Linked DNA regions of Homo sapiens: region 1 is linked to region 2. The links are contacts of gene promoters, found by promoter capture Hi-C in human tissues and cell types (Jung and others, 2019). All regions are on one chromosome and are shown on one strand. Each heading gives the region's core, a stretch centred on a gene start or on the middle of the fragment in contact. The rest is flanking DNA. Distances are from core to core; before and after follow the strand shown.

The links. Contacts are between HindIII fragments. The study calls those that stand out against the background at their distance.
Region 1: a fragment that was not itself captured here is called in contact with the fragment with the promoter of CDKL3 in region 2 in 2 of the 25 tissues and cell types used here (mesendoderm cells and thymus).

The regions. Positions count from the first base shown.
Region 1 is chr5:134,285,587-134,288,813 of GRCh38, reverse strand. It overlaps a transcript of CDKL3 not described here. Among named protein-coding and RNA genes, the nearest start is that of PPP2CA-DT, 61 kb to the right of the region's middle. The HindIII fragment of the contact is 7,286 bases long and covers 1-3,227 here.
Region 2 is chr5:134,365,337-134,368,516 of GRCh38, reverse strand. It overlaps CDKL3 (cyclin dependent kinase like 3), which reads left to right and starts at 1,346. Exons shown (of 13, transcript NM_001113575.2): 1 at 1,346-1,540; 2 at 1,973-2,158. The coding sequence starts at 1,994. The HindIII fragment of the contact is 10,082 bases long and covers 1-3,180 here.

The DNA of each region.
Region 1 (3,227 bases), core at 219-2,718, 80 kb after region 2:
TGCCTCAGTTTTCCCAGCTGGATAATGGGGACAAAATAGCTTATCCTAGAGATATTGTGAGGACTCAAGGTTTAACACACACAGGACACAGTGGGTTTGTAGTGATGAAATTTAGTAGTTCACTGGGTCTCTGTGTCTTCTTCAAGGATGAAGAATTATGGTCTTTAAGTTTTGTTATGCGAGTTATCTGAGTTTATCCTGACTTAATTCCCTTTGGGAATAAATTAGGTCTGAAAGTGTCCTCTACTCTTGTTGCATACTGCCTGTGAAACTCCTAGGGTATCTGTGCACTGGTCACCATTTATTTAGACATAAAGTTGGCATGAGTTATCTGTTCTGCAGGCATAAAGTGTTTCATTAAATACAAGAAAAAACATGGCATTTACAGTTTTAAAAGAGAGCTGTATAATGTGTCCGCTATTGTGGTTTGGAAGAAAATTAATCTCTGGAGACCCAGTTAGAGTTGTACCATGTCAAAAAAGAGATACTAGTACTGTAATTCTTTTCCACCCTGAGAAAAGCAAGTTTAGCTCAACACTTTCCAACTTTTATCATTTGGGGTTACATTGGATTTTCTCAGAGTTTTTGAGTGTTAGTGGAGTTTTAAAAGTAAAGTTACAGGCCAGGCTTGGTGGCTCATGCCTATAATCCCAGCACTTTGGGAGGCCAAGGCGGGCAGATCACCTGAGGTCAGGAGTTCGAGACCACCCTGACCAACATGGAGAAACCCCATCTGTACTAAAAATACAAAATTAGCTGGGTGTGGTGGCACATGTCTGTAATCCCAGCTACTCGGGAGGCTGAGGCAGGAGAATCACTTGAACCTGGGAGGCAGAGGTTGTGGTGAGCTGAGATTGCACCATTGCACTCTAGCCTGGGCAACAAGGGTGAAACGCCATTTCAAAAAAAAAAAAAAAAGTAAAGTTACAAACATAGCTGTGGTAAGGTGTCGAGAAGATGAGTTACTGGTTAATTTAGGCAGATCCAGGTTTTATGGAAGCTGATACTTTTAAATGAGGGCTCTTTTTGAGGAGGAAACACAAAATTTCAAAGGCAAAATTAGAAGGGCTGTTTCCATGGCTTTGGGTGCAGCCTGTGCAAGTGAGGGACTACATTGGCTTTCAATAAATATGCCTCTGCTGATAGGATTGCTCCTATTTGGTTCTCCATAGCCACCAAAACTCATGCAAACAAGTAGGTTATGGCAATGGCAGTGGCAGGGGCAGCTGAATTGGCAATCAATTGGCTAGGTCTTGAAATCTGTTGGGTAGCATCCATGTGATGATTGGGAGTCTTGGCTCTAAGTCCTTTGACCACGTGAAGTTGTCATAAGTGAAAGGGGATACAACTGGTTGCTCAGTGGGTTGCTGCTGTGTGGCACTCATTACCTTTCCTTTGGAAGAAGGAACACAGAATAGAGTCACAAGGATAGGGAACACTCTCTTGTGTTTAACACCCCTTGAAGAATAAAATTAAAATTCGATCCATTAAATAATTGAGTCAGGGTTCTGTTTTCACCAGAGTAATAAAAACTTGCTTTTGATGGGCACCAGTTATCACCTAATTGTCAAATTCAGTGACTTTTAAAAAATCCTTATTTTTCCTGATCTTTGTGTCACATTTCACACTATGAATCATCTTTTCCTCCTCAAAGCGCGCCTTCTTTTTTGTCACATGTCATCATTTTCTTCTTAATTCTAAGTGCTTTTCTGTTCTACTGATAATTTTTCTTCCTACCTGTTTCCCTGGCAGTTCTTAAGGCCTCCACTCTTCCCTGTTCCTTGAGAGAAGTATGTTACTCTTATAGCTTGGCTACCACCTCTGAGGGTATTTCTCCAAAATTTGTAGTTCTTCCACAGACATTTACCTGAAGCTACAGTCTCTATATGTTTGCTAAATGTTTCCACTTTATCATTTTGCTGTTTCTTCAGCCTTACTGATAGGGTTTGGCTGTGTCCCCACACAAATCTCATCTTGAATTCCCACGTGTTGTAGGAGGGACCTGGTGGGAGGTAATTGAATCATGGGGGCAGGTCTTTCCTGTGCTGTTCTCATAATAGTAAGTCTCATGAGATCTGATGGTTATTACAAGGGGGAGTTTTCCTGCACAAGCTCCCTCTCTTTTTGCATGCTGCCATCCATGTAAGACATGACTTGCTGTTCCTTGCCTTCCACCATGATTGTGAAGCCTCCCCAGCCATGTGGAACTGTAAGTCTAATAAACCTCTTTCTTTTGTAAATTGTCCCGTCTCAGGTACGTCTTTATCAGCGGCATGAAGACAGACCAATACAGTGAATTGGTACCAGTAGAGTGGGGCATTGCTGAAAAGATACCCAAAAATGTGGAAGCAACTTTGGAACTGGGTAACAGGCAGAGGTTTGAACAGTTTGGAGAGCTCAGAAGAAGACAGGAAAATGTGGGAAAGTTTGGAACTTTCTAGAGACTTGTTGAATGGCTTTGACCAGAAGCTTGATCATGATATGGACAATAAAATCCAAGCTGAGGTGGTCTCAGATAGAGATGAGGAACTTGTTGGGAACTGGAGCAAAGGTGACTCTTGTTATGTTTTAGCAAAGAGATTGGCAGCATTTTGCCCCTGCACTAGAGATTGTGGAACTTTGAACTTGAGAGAGGTGATTTAGGGTAACTGGTGGAAGAAATTTCTTTTTGTTGTTGTTGTTTTTTTTCTTTTTTGAGACAGTCTCACTCTATAACCAGTCTGGAGTGCAGTGGCATGATCTTGGCTCACTGCAACCTGTGCCTACTGGGTTCAAGTGATTCTCCTGCCTCAGCCTCCTGAGTAACTGGGACTATAGGCATGTGCCACCACACCCACCTAATTTTTGTATTTTTAGTGGAGACGGGGTTTCACCATGTTGGCCAGGATGGTCTCAATCTCTTGACCTCGTGATCCACATGCCTTGGCCTCCCAAAGTGCTGGGATTACAGGCATGAGCCACTGCACCCAACTGGTGGAAGAAATTTCTAAGCAGCAAAGCATTCAAGAGGTGACTTGGATGCTATTAAAGGCATTCAGTTTTATAAGGGAAGCAAAGCATAAAAGTTCAGAAAATTTGCAGCCTGACAATGCAATAGATAATAAAATCCCATTTTCTGAGGAGAAATTCAAGCCAGCTGCAGAAATTTGCAAAAGCAATGAGGAGCTGACTGTTAATCCCCAAGACAATGGGGAAAATGTCTCCAGGACATGTCAGAGACGTTTGCG
Region 2 (3,180 bases), core at 97-2,596:
CTCCCGAGTAGCTGGGACTACAGGCGCCCGCCACCACGCCCAGCTAATTTTTTCTATTTTTTAGTAGAAATGGGGTTTCACCGTGTTAGCCAGGATGGTCTCGATCTCCTGACCTCGTGATCCGCCCGCCTGGGCCTCCCAAAGTGCTGGGATTACAGGCGTTAGCCACTGCGCCCGTCTGAATAACCTTCAAAGAAAAGACAATTCTGAATATTTTAGGTGATCAATGAAAACGATGACCACTTCTCCTTTCTCTCAATATAAACCCTAGCAGCATAGAAAAAACTTGAGAAGCTTCAAAAATACTAATTTATTTACGCTATCCCAATTAAATCAGGTGCTCTGGCATTGGGGCAGGGGTGTGGAGGTGGGGGTTGGGATGCTTTCTAAAAGCTCTCCAGGTGTGATTTAAATATGCATGCTGGGTGGGACCCACCAGACTAGATTTATTAAATAATGCCTTTCCTCTTATTTAGCGGAAGCATAGCGAGATTTCGCTTTTTTACATTTAACTCATTTTATAGAAGAAAGCAAAGAAAGCCCTATTCAATAAAGAAAGCACTCCCTAGGCACTTGGTCTAGTGATATGGTGGTTATTCATTAGGGACTGTCATTCCAGTTGAACTCTATGTCTACTTAAGCAGTTAGACACTGGCCTCTTTATTTCCGTGCTCTTGTACATCATTTCGTATATGGTGGAACTCTTCGAATTACTTGCTTTCCTAGAGTTTGACATGTGGTGAGGGAGGTTTTTTTTCTTTAAAAAAGATTACTAGCAGTTGGAAAAAATTAAAAGGCATATGGCAAGTGTTCAAGAAAAGTTTTTGATTTAAGAACCATCTTGACCGGGGGCGGTGGCTTACGCCTGTAATCCCAGCACTTTGGGAGGCCGAGGCAGGCGGATCACCTGATGTTGGGAGTTCGAGACCAGCCTGGCCAACATGGTAGAAACCCCGTCTCTACTAAAAATACAAAATTATCCGGGCGTGGTGGCACACGCCTGTAATCCCAGCTACTCGGGAGGCTGAGGCAGGAAAATCACTTAAACCTGGAAGGAGGAGGTTGCAGTGAGCCAAGATCAGCGACACTGCAGTCCAGCCTGGGCGACAGAGCTAGACTATCTCAAAAAAAAAAAAAAAAAAAAAAAAGATGCAGATCCTTCCTATCCACATTCAAAAGCAACCTTGTGAGGAGGCTCAGCTGCGACAGCAATCTGTACTCCCCTCCCCCATTCCCAAGCACAGCACTCTTCCACCTTGCGCCTACCCAGAGTAGGTTTCCGTTTCTTCCCACTTCCCCTTCCGGGTCGGGACCCTGCCCATGTTCCGGTCTTGCGCACGAGTCTAGAACGCAGCAACTCCGCCGGCGTTTCCATGGTGGCAAGTGGCCGGTTCCTTGCGGGGCTGAGCAACAAAGTAGTATCAGTGTTCGGTGGCTCCACTGGAACTACGCAGAGCCAGACCAGCGGGACCACAGAATGGGCTGAGGCGGCGGCGGCTGTTTGGATAAAGTCAACAGCGGGACGTGGGGCGTGACGCCGGTCCGGCATCCTAAGACGTGTGGTTTGAGTTGCGGGCGAGACCAGGCTTTTTTTAGGACCTTGGGCCTGATAAGTGGGCGACTGCAGTAGTGCGGGAACCTATTATTTGACAGGAACATGACAGGAAGTGTAGGGACCCCATGCTTGATGGATGGTGACTTATAGTGTGGTAGTCTCAGTGTTGATGGGCATGACCGAGACAGCAGGAGTACCCCTAAGTTCTGGTGAGAGGTGGAGCCTCAGAAGGACACCTTACTCAAGCTGTCTTTAGTTCCCAAAGACAAAAAGGCTCAGTGGAAAAGATTCCTTTTTTTTTTTTAATGTCTCTATATTTGAGACTGTGGGTTTATTGTGGATATGCATTATCTAGTTTTAATAAATAAAAGTATAAACGTTTAACATTTTCCATTTTCTTTCTTTATTTCTATAAAGTAGTAAAAGCCCAGCTTGAAAATGGAGATGTATGAAACCCTTGGAAAAGTGGGAGAGGGAAGTTACGGAACAGTCATGAAATGTAAACATAAGAATACTGGGCAGATAGTGGCCATTAAGATATTTTATGAGAGACCAGAACAATCTGTCAACAAAATTGCGATGAGAGAAATAAAGTTTCTAAAGGTTTGCTTCTTTTGCCTTAATCATCTAAGTCAAAAGAAAAAATTGTTATGGAATAAAAAATTGCATAAAATATTTTAGTTCACACGTACTGATTCATATTATGGAGAAACAAGTGTAATACTCTATCTTATCTACATTTTGTAATTTTATAGTGATACAAGATATATGTGTTTTGGGGTATGTAACAAAAGCTACACCAATATTGTTTAATAATTATTCAGAAATATTCAAGTATAATACTTAATAAAAATTTCTGCTATGTGCAAGGCATGGTGCTAGGTACTGAGACTATAAGGAGGTAAAAGATAGTTCCTGCCCTTAAAGACTTCTATAATTTAATCAGAAAGGAGAGTATATGAAAATCATACTGAATAAAAAGTGGCTCATAATAAATGCCAAGGAATCAACACAAAGTCCTTTCCCTGGTAGGGAAAGTTTTTTTGAGGAAATGGGACATGAATTTGGCTTTGAAGGATGTGGAGGGTTTAGATAAGAGGGAGAAACTGTTGTGTTCTAGGTTAGAGGAACAACATAAACTCAAAAGAGACTAAAGAAGGACAAAGGATAAAGGGCAAAGTGGAAAGGACAAAGAGCAAAGACATGTGCCTGTAGAGTTTTCTGAGCAGAATTGGAAAGAGGTATATTAGAACAGTAAATTGGAGGTAGATTTTAAAGTCTTTTAGGCTAAGGAGTCAAAACTTGATTTTGTAAGAGGTGGAAAGTCGTGAAGGTTTTGAATTCAGTGTAAAGAAATGTAAATTTTAATCTACCACTATTGTGCAGAATAGATTGGAGGACTAAGAGTAAAAATAGGTCTGTTAGGAGTTCAATTAAGGAATTTTGGAAAATGTCTGAGGACCCTTGCTAAAATGCAGCAATGTGAATGAAAAGTAAAGTTAGAACATGCTGTATTGTAAAAAACAAAAAAAAAAGACATGAGGCCGGGTGCGGTGGCTCACGCTTGTAATCCCAGCACTTTGAGAGGCCGAGGCGGGTGGATCACCTGAGGTCAGGGGTTCAAG